Linked DNA regions of Homo sapiens: region 2 is linked to region 1. Evidence: promoter capture Hi-C in 16 types of primary human blood cells and fetal thymus (Javierre and others, 2016). All regions are on one chromosome and are shown on one strand. Each heading gives the region's core, a stretch centred on a gene start or on the middle of the fragment in contact. The rest is flanking DNA. Distances are from core to core; before and after follow the strand shown. Region 1 holds the start of ADCYAP1 (adenylate cyclase activating polypeptide 1). Region 2 has its middle 140 kb from the start of LINC00470.

Region 1 (6,246 bases), core at 1,282-3,781:
TAGTTAATCGTGTTTGTGGTTTTCCCCCTTTAATGGGCCGTGAAGTCAGCAAACTCCCCACATGGTGGCTCCCTTTACTAAAGTTGAGTAGTGAATTGTACAAGGAGTCTTGGAAATTTTCAAATATTTCTCCAGATTGAACTCAACTCAGAATTCGTGTGGGAGGAAAGAGTAAGGATTTTAATGGGGTTCACCTTTGACGTGAAGCAAGGCGGAAGACAGGAAAGCCACAGTGGGGAATAGCTTTGGGCGCTTTAGTAAGAAAGACATCTCTGCTTGATTATCTGGTAGTGTTCACCGCAGGCTCTTTGTGTGCGAGCTTGCTGCAGAGGCAGAGCTGAACATGGAAAACACGCATGTAAACAGTCCAACATAAATCAGTGAGCATATGTATCAGAGAAAAAGAGACATATTCCCATGTAGATGTGGTTTGAAGCTTTATTGAAGGCAGACAATCTGAAGCACGGCCAGGAATAAACTAAGAGGAAGCAGACAGTTTTCGGTCATTCATGGCCAGGAATAAACAAAACTTAGTTTTTTTTTTTAAGAAGGAGGAAGTATTAAATCTCAAATAAGAGCAGGAACAGCATTTAGAAGGAGAAATATAATATCTTGGAAAAAGCATGCAGAACTAATATAGCTTATTTAAATGTGAGATCCAAATCGTAGTAACAGGAAACCCTCCCACTAAACTGGAATTTCCCCTAATTTTTGTGTAAGATCCAAATAATTAAAATGCACTCTAATGGTTATTGATGGCTCTATTTTCTTTCTTTCTTTCTTCTTCTTCTTTTTTTTTTTTTTAAAGAAATAGACCTGAGTTCTCTTACTGGAGTAGAAATATATGAACCTTCTTCAATTACCCAGGAAATTGGAAGCCTCTGGGTGGATATGGTCTTCCCTTATTGCTTTCCTCTTCCCACATCATTTTCAGTTAAAAAAATTAACTGTTTCCAGCAGAGGGATTCCTGTTAGAAACCTTCATCAGGTGAACTTGTACTGGGAACCCTCATGCTTTCCCAGTCTGTCTGTGTCTCCCAAACAGAGCTGAAGTTGTAAACAAAGTGGAAAAACATATTTCTCGCCCCCAAATTCTTAAAATTTCACTTCTTGTGGAAAACACAATTTCACAACATCAATTTTTAAAATCTGTAAGAGCCACAGAAGGTGTGAAAGTAGCCAAACAGCCGGTCTAGAAATCCAAAAGCCAGGACTAACGGGGGACAGAATGCTTTTTCCTCAAATCCAGGCAGGGATGGGGAGCATTCTCAGCATTAGGGCATTTATGGACGCTACAAGAGGGAAAGGATGTATCTGAACGGTGGGGGTGATTTAGGCGATGAATCGCCACGTTAATAGCACTACTGCCAAATCTTCAAATTTAGAGGCTCTGGTGAAAAATTAAACCGGTGGCAATTTTCAACGTTTGTAGCATCTGTTACCCTACACTTCAGCACCCGGAGTCTGGACAGCTCCGCAGGCCGCGCTCCGGAGGCAGCATGAGCTCTCATCAATCTACTCATAGCCCTACTGTCAACGGCAGCCAGACTCAGGAGAGATTTACTGAAAATCCTCCAAGACTTCCCTTTAAAAACAAAACGACTTCCACATTTAATGGTCTATCTGAAAGAACATACGCAAGAAATTAGGAGATCTAAATTAAATTTATTAATAGGAGAGCTTGATGATGCTTAATTCCAGAGACCAGAGCTCTGATTGGTGAGGCTTGATGAAAAAGTAAAGAGAAATCGTAATTATATAGTTAAAAACATAACTTTTGTCATCCTCAAAATTCTAAAAATTCTTTACCTGTCCTTGAGAAACGGGTGAAATTGAAAACCATCAAAACAATTGGACTTCTTAAAAATTGGATTGTATGAGTGAAAGGTGTTTATGAGAAGTCGATGACTCCGGATCTTATCATCCAAGAGGACAGCACAGAATAGTTAATATGTTCCTTGAGGGACTAGGATGCTGACGTCTTTTTCTGATACCCGATCATTACGTGACTGAGAAAAAAAAAAAGGAAGTCATTTCATGAATAAAAATCGGAGCGCAACAGTGCAACAAAATATTCTGTACTTAAAGGCAACAGGCAGGCAGATGTTGACAAAGAGGGCTCTCCAAAAACCATGTTCGGATAGATTTTTGCGAACTGCACAGATAAATAGGAGCAGAAGGCCGGTCACCTCTGTAACCAGCGGTAGCAGCAGCAGAAGCCGCAGCTTCAGAGGCAGCCGGAGAGACCTCGGAGCAGAGAAGGCGCCGCCGACCCTCGCGGCTGCCTGGCCCGCGGCTCCTACAAAGGCGGGCTAGCCGCCCGCCCTCTCCCTTGCCTTCCTCCCCTTCTTTTCTGACTTTCCCTCTTTCCCTTAATCGCCTGCTTCTTCCTCCGGGTGGACTTACGGCCACCTTGCTCCTCCGCGCTTCACCTCATCGCCCCCTCTTTCTTTCTTCTGCCTCTCTCTCTGCGCCCCCTTCTCTCCGTGTCACGCTCCCTCCTGGTTCTGCGCGTCTACAAACTTTTGAGCAGAACACGAGCCTCGGCAAACGAGTCCCGCAGCTCCTCCTGCTGCTCCCGCTGGTTCCTGCGGCTTCTGCTCAGACACCAACGCCAGACGGCGATGCCTCTCGGGTGGTGACTCCAGCGCAGGAACTTGAAGAAGCGCTTTGCCCGCCGTCCTACCTGGCAGCTCTCCTGGCAGCGGGAGGAGTTGAAGGGTAAGGGAGGGAAAATCTTACCAAAGCGACCGGCTCACTCGACTGCTGATTCTTTCGCTTGGCATCGCGTCAGGGGAGTTAGCTTTCCTTCAGCCGGGTCTGGCTAGTTATTGGGCGCCGGGTAGATGCATATATATATATTTTTTTCTAACTATAGCAAGCAAGAAGTGGCAGGGCGCGCACCGGCTGTCGCCAAGTGCTGTTCAACTCAGGGAGCCGGGGCTTCGCTCCGTCCCTCCCCCGGCTTCCAGAGCTTTTTGGGGTTGGAGGGTGGGAGGCCAGGGGCGTTCTCACAGCTGTGTGTCCTCTTTCCCATCCTGCGCAGAATGACCATGTGTAGCGGAGCGAGGCTGGCCCTGCTGGTCTATGGGATAATCATGCACAGCAGCGTCTACAGCTCACCTGCCGCCGCCGGACTCCGGTTCCCCGGGATCAGGTAGGTGCTGGCTGCCTGGCCCAAGCAGGAGCTGGGGCTTCCCAGGCACAGACGCTTCCTCACGGTCTCCTTCCTGCAGTCCTTTGGGTCCAGACTACTAGCATCGCCCTCTGCGCCCCCGGTGCGCCTCCGCCAGCCTCGGCTGGACAGCGGGTCCCCATTCTAGCCGAGGGTCTGGCAGGCTCCGCGACTGCTCGGACGCCTCCCCCAGCCCTAGGCAGCTCAGGGTCCCGGGTAGAGCCAGTGAGCTTCTGGCCGCTGGAGAACCCCCCCTCCCCCAACCCGGCCCACAGGATGGGGGCAGGGCACGGCCCCTAGCTTGGTTTCTTTTACCTATTCTTGGGACGAGTTAGGAGAACTTCAGCTCTGGAGCCTGGCCGGGGGTTGAGCGTGAAGCTCCCTCGGACTTTGCTTTGTTACTGCTTGTTCTGGACTATCCGGGTGGGGTCTCTCTCTCTCCTCCACCCTTTCTTTTCATTTCATTCCAATTCTTTCCCCTGAAGAGCTTTCTTTCAAGTGATCCGTGTTCCAACTGCATTTTGAATCCCAGGCTGTCTTGGGGGGCGTGCGGTGGGGAGGGTGTTGGCCCGGTGTGATTGAGGAAAAGCGACTTAAGAGAGGGAAGAACAAGGACGAGACTGCGAAGGAGGGGGAAAAACAGGCGCAAAGGAGGAGGAAGGGAAAGCCAGCAGGCAGGCAGGACCGGGAGAGCAGCCCTGCCTGGCCCGGGATGGAGGAACCTTGGCTTTTTTCTTAACCCCGGGTTTCTAACCGGCAGGCGCGGCCCAGGTTCCCGGAGGCAGCCCCAGAGTCGCGGACCGATGTGCCAGGCTGTGGATGAGCCCTGGGTAGGGGAGGGTTCGTACCAGCGGCGCCTGGGGCAGCGAGGAGCGCGCGTTCTGCCTGCGAAGCTGCCTTCTCCGAGCCCCGCCCAGGAACATTAGCTCTGGGGGGCCGCTGATCATTGATTTGGACGGAGAGATGGGTTCTGGGTTCTGTATTAGGATTCCAGCATCTGGGCTCGAGGCAGGGCAATATCCAGAAAGACCCCAGGGTTCGGGGTACCCGGGCCAGGGCTGAGGCGCATCGCCGAGCAAAGGCTGGGTGCGAGGCGTGCGGAATGATGCGCTTGCCTTGCCCGGGCCTCTCCAAGGATGGAGAAAAGGCGAGTGAAGCAGCGAAGTACGACTCCAACCCCGCCCAGAGAGTGCTACTAGCGCTGGCTGCACGCCAAGTCTCTCCAGGGGTCCAAAGCGAGAGGGATTTGTTTTAACCCATCTCTACCCGTCCTGTGTCAAGAACGGAGGCTGTAGAGGGCGACTGCGAAGTCGCCAGGCACTCGCTGGATCTCGGTCCCCCTCCTCGTGCTCTGGGGTTGAGATGGGGCACCGCCATCGATAACAGATCAGCGCGAACTATTCGTTTAGTGGCCTTAAAACACCCTGGTTTCACCCTCAGCTATTTTCAAGTTCCCGTGTGCCTGGCACTTTCTCCGTGCGAGAAGCACCGGAGGGTGCGGACGCGCCACAGTCTGAGCCGCCGCCGAACTGGCTAAGTTTAGGGGCATTTATTATTCATGTTCCTGCCAGATCCTCGCCTGCCCAAAATAGAAACCGAGGTTCTCCGTGACCTACATCTGCTCGGAGAAGGGCTCCCCTGGGCTCGGAGGCTGGGGTGGGGGTGGCTGAGGAGTTGGCCCCCGCACGCCCCACGCATCCTCTCCTTTGCTTTCTGGGCCTCCCCATTCGGGTCTTCGCGTGGGTCAGCGCCCGGTCTCCCAGGGCCTTTCTCGTCCCCGCCCGTTGCTGCTTTGGGGAGGCTCGGGAGCCAGGCGGGGAGGGGGGCGGTCCTTTTCCGTAGACAGGTGTGCGCGATCGGCGGAGACGCCTCGGTTTCCCAGCGCTTGTTGAGGCCGTGGCCCGCAGGACGACCCTTTACCCGCGAAGGGGGGGTGGGCGGGCCGCCCGGCGGGGTAGGAGTGGTTGGGTGTCGTTGCCTCCTCCTTACCTCTGCTCCCACCCCCAGTCCTGGGAGAAGAGACAATTCTCAGCGGAGGACTTTTATCACCTGTGAAAATCCGCGCGAGCCCCTTACTTTGGATCCTCGCCGAGCTGGGGAGGAACTTGCACTGACCACACCTTCTGTCCCCGGCCACCCCGCAGGCCAGAGGAAGAGGCGTACGGCGAGGACGGAAACCCGCTGCCAGACTTCGATGGCTCGGAGCCGCCGGGCGCAGGGAGCCCCGCCTCCGCGCCGCGCGCCGCCGCCGCCTGGTACCGCCCGGCCGGGAGAAGGTGAGATTCGCGCGGCCTCGCGCACACCCGCGGCTGGGAGCTCGGGACTGCGGTGACGGGAGGGGCAGTGTGGTGACCCACCCAGGATTTTTTTTTTTTTCCCGTGAAAGTCCTCAAGCCTGTCCTCTCCCTGGCCCGATCCTATTGCAGCGACAGAAAATCAGCAGCGGGCGGGTCTGTGTGGACCTGAGGGCCGCGTGGGGACCGAGGGGGGCTGTGGCCCAAAGAGTGGCAGTGAGTGGCGTCAAGGAACCCACACTCCGCATCTGCCACTCCTAGAGCCGGGACTAGCTCCCGATCCTAGCAGTTGCTCTCGAGATCATCCCGGGAGTTATTGGCGAGTTCTGGGCCTCTGGAGGTTTCCCTGTCAGCCTCCCCGGCCGCCGAGGGGGCGCGCGCCCAACAAGGGGGTCTCTAGCGGCCACCTGGGGACAGAAACAGTGACCCTGGGCGCGCACTTTGCCTCCCCGTTAGAGATGTCGCCCACGGGATCCTTAACGAGGCCTACCGCAAAGTGCTGGACCAGCTGTCCGCCGGGAAGCACCTGCAGTCGCTCGTGGCCCGGGGCGTGGGGTAAGAGTTTGTGGAAGGATTAACCTGCGCGCGCCGGGGTGGGTGCCTGTGCGGGGCGCGCGGGGCGGGCGGCGGTGGGTGCCCGTGGGGGCCAGGGTGAGTCTGCGCCCCTGGGTCTGGGGTGGGCATCCGCCACGGGTCGCAGTTGGAGATTTTGAAGTGGCACTTTAAATTTGCCCAGAGAGCTCTGGAAGAGGCAAAAAGGGAACGCGAGCCAGGGAG
Region 2 (6,969 bases), core at 1,380-3,879, 590 kb after region 1:
AGTATCAGTTGTAATGCCACTTTTGTCATTTCTGATTGTGCTTATTTGAATTGCCTCTCTTTTTTCTTGGTTAATCTAGCTAGTGGTCTATCAGTTTTGTTTATTCTTTCAAAAAAGCAACTTAAAAAAAAATAGAGATGGGGTTTCACCATGTTGCCCAGGCTGGTGTTGAACTCCTGGGCTGAAGTGATCTTTCAACCTCGGCCTCCCAAAGTCCTGGGATTACAGGTATGAACTATTGCACCTGGACACAAAGAACCAACTTTTCATTTTGCTGATTATTTTTATAATAATTTGTTATTATCCAAATAAATTATATAAATTATTGATATAATAATCAATAATTTGATTGTATAATCAACAAAATGAAAAGTTGTATGGGTCTTTTTGGTCTCAGTGTCATTTAGTTCTGCTGTGATCTTTGTCATTTCTTCTGCTAGCTTTGGGTTTGGTTTGGGTTTTTCTAGTTCTTTTAGGTGAGACATTAGGCTGTTGATTTGGGAGCTTTCTATCTTTTTTTTCCAAATAACTTATTTGATTTCTACCTTAATTTCATTGTTTATCCAAAAGTCATTCAGGAGCAAGTTGTTTAGTTTCCATGTGCTTATGTGGTTTGGGGAGTTCCTTTTGGTATTGATTTCTAATTTCACTTCACTGTGGTCTGAGGCAATGCTTGATATGATTTTGGTTATTTTGATTATATTGAGACTTGTTTCATGACTAAGCATGTGATCAATTTTAGAGAATTTTCCACATATAGATGAGAAAAAGTGTATATTCTGTGGTTGTTGGGTGAAGTATTCTGTAAATGTATATTAGGTTCAATTGAAGTCCAGAAATTTTTTGTTAGTTTTCTCCCTCAATTATTTGTCTAGTTCTTTCAGTGGAGTGTTGAAGTCCCCCACTATCAAATGGCTGTCTATCCCTTTTGTTAGGTCTAGTGGTATTTATGAGTCTGGGTTCTCTAATTTTTATAATAGCCTTCTTTGTCTTTTTTTTTTTTTTGAGATGGAGTCTCACTCTGTTGTCCAGGCTGGAGTGCAATGGTGCGATCTCGGCTCACTGCAACCTCTGCCTCATGGGTTCAAGCTATTCTCCTGCATCAGCCTCCAAAGTAGCTGGGATTAGAAGCACCTGCCACCACGACGGGCTAATTTTTGTATTTTTAGTAGCAATGGGTTTTCACCACGTTGGCCAGGCTGGTCTCAAACTCCTGACCTTAGGTGATCTGCCCACCTCAGCCTCCCTCCCAAAGTGCTGGGATTACAGGTGCGAGCCAGTGGGCCTGGCTTCTTTGCCTTTTTTTTTTTTTTTTTAACTATTGGTAGTTTAAAGACTGTTTTATCTGATACAAAAATAGTTACCCCTGCTCTTTTGTGTTTTCTATTGCATAATAGATCTTTCTCCATCCCTCTCCTTTGAGCCTGTGGGTGTAATTAGGCATCAGATGAGTCTTTGAAGGCATCAGAAAGTTGGGTCTTACTTTTTTTTAGTCAATTTGCCACTCTATGTCTTTTAAGTGAGGTATTTAGAGTGTTTACTTTCAAGGTTAATATTAGTATGTGAGGTTTTGTTCCCGTCTTAGTGTCATTAGCGAGTTGCTTTCTAGTCTCAATTGTCTAATTACTTCATAGATTCTGTGAACTTTGTACTTATGTGTGCTTTTATGGTAGTAAGTATCATTCTTTTGTTTACATGTTCAGAAATTCTTTGAGCATTTCTTCTATGACTGCTCTGTTGAAGAATTACTTTGGTGTTTACTTGTCTGGGAAAGACTTTATTTTTCTTTTATGAAGCTTAGTGTGATAGGATATAACATTTTTGGCTGGCAGATTTTTTTTCTTCAGAATGGCTAAAAATAGGCCTCTATCGCCTGTTAATTGTAAGGTTTCCACTGAGAAGTCCGCTGTCAGTCTGATGGAATTTCCCTTCTAGGTAATTTGACCCTTTTTTCTAACTGCCTTTAAGATTTTTTTCTTTTGCATTGACTTTGGTTAATCTGATGACTATATTCCTTGGGGACAGTCATGTTGTATAGTATTTTGCATGTGTTCTCAATTTTTTTGTATCAGAATGTTGACTTCTCTAGCATGATTAGGGAGATTTTCCTGAATTGTTTCTCTTAATATGTTTTACAAGTTGCTTACTTTTTCTTCTTCTCTCTCAGGAATGCCAATAAGCTGGAGATTTTGTTGTTCTTATATAATCCCATATTCTTAAAGGCCTTGTTCGGTTTAAAAATCCTTTTCCCTTTATTTTTGTCTGATTGGGTTAATTCAAATGTCTGGTCTTAAGGTTATGAAATTTTTCTTCTGCTTGGCCTAGGCTACTGTTAAAGCTTCCAACTTATTTTAAAATCTCTTTAGCAACTTTTTCAGTTCCAGAAGTTCTATATGGTTTTTTCTTAAAATAGCTATCTTGTGTTTCATGTCCTGAACCGTTTTTATGGTTTATTTGTATTGGATTCCAACTTTCTCTTTGATCTCATTTAGTTTCCTTGAAACCTGTATTTTGAATTCTTCATCTGTCATTTCAGAATTTTCAGCTTGGTTAGTATCCAATGCTGGAGAGCTGTGCCATCCTTTAGAGGTGTCAAGACACTCTGGCTTTTTGTACTGCCAGATTTCTGGTAGTGATTCCTTCTCATCTTAGAGAGGTGCCACTTGTAATTTTTTGAATTCGCTATCATTTGGATAGGACTTTTTCGTGTTTTTATATTTCCCTTGAGTGTATGACTGTGATATATGTGTATGATCATTTTGTTTTGTTTCTGTGTGCGTTCAGGGAGCCAAGGCTCTTTATGGGTTCCATGGTTGTGGATAGCATCTGCAGCTTTCTTAGTCGCTGCTTGTTGCAGCGATGTATTAAGTCTTCGAGCTGACACACTATCCCCTGCAAGGCTGAGGGTGTGGAGATCTCATGAAGCTTGTCTCCGGGACCAGCGCTAAGCCCTTCTGGCAGCAATTTTTGTTTTGTTCTGTTTGATGGTGCACTTCAGGCTGCAATTAAGTAGTAGCCCTTAAAAGTAAGAGCAGGCTTGCCCTCAGGCGGGCTGATGAGCTGTGAAAGAACTTGTTCTGAGAGAGGGTAGAGGGAAGAGATCATGTTAGGATGCACCAAGGTCTTGAAGGAAGGAGTGAGAGGTGATGCACAGCTCCTCATCCTGAGCTGGCAGGAACTGATCTGCTCCCCTATCGTGCCCTTGTCACAGGGCTCATGACCTTCAGCAGTTCATAAACACTTTGTCCTTTGGTTCTTGGTTTCAGTGTGGCTGTGGGCCAGAGATACAGTCTTCTCATGGCTACCACCAAAATGGGCACTTAGGGCATAGCCTCTTTCCCAGTTCGGAGCAGGCAATTCTGCAGCTTGTCTATTCTCTGTTGCTGGGATGCTGCCACTCTGTTTAGGGAGAGGTATTTGCCATCCAGCTTTTGTGTACAGTCAAGTGGCTGGGCTCACTTTCAGTATAGGTGGGGCCATTGCAAAAATTGCAAATATGCTTCCTCCAAAGAAACACTGCTGTGTTCACAATAGTGGATGAGTGAGCAGAAGATGACCCCCTCTACATGTTTCTTCCCAGGCATTAGTGCTGCCTCCTTCAGTGATTGCCGCGGCACCCATATTTCCTTTGTCCCAAGGAGTTTTTGGCTGGCTGTGCTCCCCCCTCCCTTAGAGATGACCCATGCCAAGAGTTATACTTACTGGGGTCCCAACACCTCCTCAGGGACCCATTTCCTTTACTTGTTAAAGTCGGAGTAGGTCTGTGGGGTATGTTTATGGGGAACCTGGTGGTGTGCTGACACATGGGAAGAGAATTTCAGGGCAAAGCAGTGGCCCACAACCAGTATGGTGGCTGCTGTCTCAGTTTGGGTCTGAGGGAAGTGCGGGCACACCTGCATGAGGTGGCCACCCAGTTCTCTGTTCTTGGGTAGTCTCCAAATCACCACTGATAGAATTGCCCTGGGTCACAAGGGCAGAGGGTTTCCAGATTTTGGTAGTCAGCAGATCGTCACAGGGGTGAGGGGAGCAGAGATGCACTTCCACCTACTTTTCCCAGAGGGCTCTGAGTTCCTTGGGGGCTGATCTTTGCCAGACTCTTGCTGCTTTCCTTTTCTGTACCCTGGCTTCTTACCATGGACACTCTGACAGGTCCTGGCTCTCTTTTCTCAGTTTTCCATTTGGAACTTGTGTATTTGCTGGTAATTCTGATCTTCTTTCTGAGGAGACCTGGCATCCAATGTCCATAGCCAGCCATTTTGAAATAAAAAAACATAGAATTTTAATTCACAATATTTTCATTCAGAGCAGTTGGAAATTAGGTGTGTTCTGTTTCCAAGGATGGGTCTAGTCTGTGTGGAGGAGAAAAGGTTGTATTACGCTTTGCTAGTTTACTTCAAAAAGTCACTGTTGAATTCTTTACACTTTGTGTAACTTTTGGCTTTGTAGGTTAGAAATGTTTCAATATGATTTATTAAATTTTTATTGTATTGGATAGTAAGTTAAGAGCAAAAGCTTCAAATCAATACTTTCTTCATTGATTTTGTTTGGCTTAAATGATTTATTAAGCTGCAGGCTTAAAGAAACAAATTGAAGAGAAACAAAGGTATGTGTATTAGCCAGAGTTCTCCAGATAGAGAGAGAGAAATTTAGTTACTTAAGGAATTGACTCACTTAATAATTATGGTTCCTGGCAAGTCTGAAAGCTATAAGGCAGACAGGCAGGGTGAAAATTCAGATAACAGTTGATGTTGCAATCTTGAGTTCAAAATTGTTAGGGCCAACAAGCAGAGTTTCTACATTGCAGTCTCGAGGAAGAATTCCTTTTTCTTTGGGGAACCTCAGTCTTTACTCAAGACTTGCAACTGATTAGATGATGCCTGCCCATATTATGGAGAGTAATCTGCTTGCTTAGAGTCAACAAATTTAAATGTCAATTATATATATAAAATACCTTCACAACCACATCTAGACTAGTATTTTACCAGGTAACTGGGGACTACAACCTTGCCAAGTTGAACAATAAATTAATCATCAGAGTCCACTGCTTGTCAACTTGATACCTATACACATTTTTATAAGCCATACTTAATATCCAAATAAAGACAAAAACAAAGTATCATTTCTGCCAAACATGATACTACTATCCTATATACAACTGGAAATGCACTTACCCTTTCCCCAGAAGAGGATGCAAAATCCTTCAGTAATGTTTACTTTTCTCCTTGATATTCTGTTACTTATATACTATGATGAAAAGTTCACAATGCTTAAAATACTGTGGTATAAAGTTAATTTATCTCATGTTACATGACAAAGAAATAAGAGAGAAGAAAACAAGAACACTTTCTATGTACAAATACGTATATGCAGACATATTCATAATAAGGATATGTTATAATAATTACAGTCTATTTCTGCGATGGGTCATGTGGTCATAGCTGTATTTATAACTACCTTCTTTCACTATCTATTCCATATTTCCTTTACCCTCAGCAAGGACCTCAGCAGGTCTTGGTTTTGTACCTGGTAGAGTGACTCAAACCTTCAGTACTGAAGACTCTGGGCCATTAGCAGTCCTTCCAGAATTGGGTTGTTACTGTTTGCCATGAACTTTCACCACAGGGCATACTAGTACTGGGAGATTGTGGGGCTGTTAGGGTTGTGAACCTCCTTAAAAATGTGTCAGCTACAGGAAGTGCTGAGATAATGGTAGCCCAGGCAGGAATTGGCTCTCAAACCTTCAGAGCATTGTAGGAAACTTTTGATTTCAATAATTGTTAGATGCCACCTAGAGGTCATATTTGTTCCTCAACTTATGTTTAAATTGTGATAGGGTAAAACAATTCAAACACATCATAAAGAATATTGTTACTTCAATAAATATTTTTGCTAACTGTATTTATGATCATGTTTTAAAAATATACAAGGACATATTATATTCTCTGATTTAAAATATTCAGTTGTTATATAGAATTCAAAATAAGAAATGCAACATGGCTATAAAAATATAAAATATAATGTAAATGTAGTTGAGGTGGTATTTTGCATATACTGGAAACTAACAATAATCGAGAGAGCTGGATTGAATACCTATGAAAAAATGGGTGCAGATCGGAAGAAAATCTGATAGACCAACTAGATGTTTACTGCATTTTGCAATCTCTATCCTATCCATTCACTTTTATGAGGTGTTTTGCATGTGTGACTTTTTAATAGGGCACAGTCTTATAAAATAGTCTCAATATATTTACCATAGGAAGGTTTTTGAGCTGTTATACCCCAGGGATCTTGATTTTGCAGAAATTATACCTGCCTTTCTGAGGTTAAATGCTGCTAGAACTTCCCCGATCCAACTAGGTTAATGAGATACTTCAGACAGAAGTTCACATACTGGAAAAAGCTTTGAGGTCCCTGAGGAGGAGAATTTCTCCCAAGGGATGCGAGACCCTTTGCTGATAAACCTGAGTAAGAGAAGGGCACCGGAGTTCACATGGAGGGCTGCATCAGGTGGCTGAACATTATTTGGCTGAGGATGCAAGTTTCTCCTGCTTCTGCCATCTTGGTGGGGTGGCCAACCTATGGAAGCATGGGCTAAATACATTCAGAATTATAAACTTGAAACAAAAATGTGAGGCATCACTGCAGCTCTGCAGTGATCTTGACTAGCCACAGGATCATGACAAAAAATGGACCGTCTCCTTCGAACCATAAAAGATGATTTACAGGCCAGGCACAGTAGCTCATGCCTATAATCCTAGCATTTTGGGAGGCTGAAGTGGGTGGATCACTTGAGACTAGGAGTTCAAGACCAGCATGGCCAATATGGCGAAATTCTGTCTCTACTAAAAATACAAAAATTAGCCAGGCATGGTCACAAGCACTTGTAATCCCAGCTACTTGGGAGGCTGAGGCAGGAGAATTGATTGAACTCTGTAGGTGGAGATTGCAGTAAGCTGAGATCATACAACT

Evidence for each region. The method cuts DNA at HindIII sites, captures the fragments that hold promoters and counts their contacts. A CHiCAGO score of 5 or more calls a contact.
Region 2: a fragment that was not itself captured here is called in contact with the fragment with the promoter of ADCYAP1 in region 1 in 1 of 17 cell types (endothelial precursors); the score reaches 5.4 in endothelial precursors.

What each region holds. Positions count from the first base shown.
Region 1 is chr18:902,340-908,585 of GRCh38, forward strand. ADCYAP1 (adenylate cyclase activating polypeptide 1) reads left to right here and starts at 2,532. Exons shown (of 5, transcript NM_001099733.2): 1 at 2,532-2,721; 2 at 3,047-3,157; 3 at 5,320-5,451; 4 at 5,926-6,024. The coding sequence starts at 3,048. LOC124904340 (a long non-coding RNA gene) reads right to left here and starts at 4,313. Exons shown (of 2, transcript XR_007066435.1): 1 at 2,743-4,313; 2 at 425-2,009. RefSeq lists an enhancer at 5,377-6,098. The HindIII fragment of the contact is 10,218 bases long and covers 435-6,246 here.
Region 2 is chr18:1,493,692-1,500,660 of GRCh38, forward strand. No RefSeq gene overlaps it. Among named protein-coding and RNA genes, the nearest start is that of LINC00470, 140 kb to the left of the region's middle. The HindIII fragment of the contact is 587 bases long and covers 2,337-2,923 here.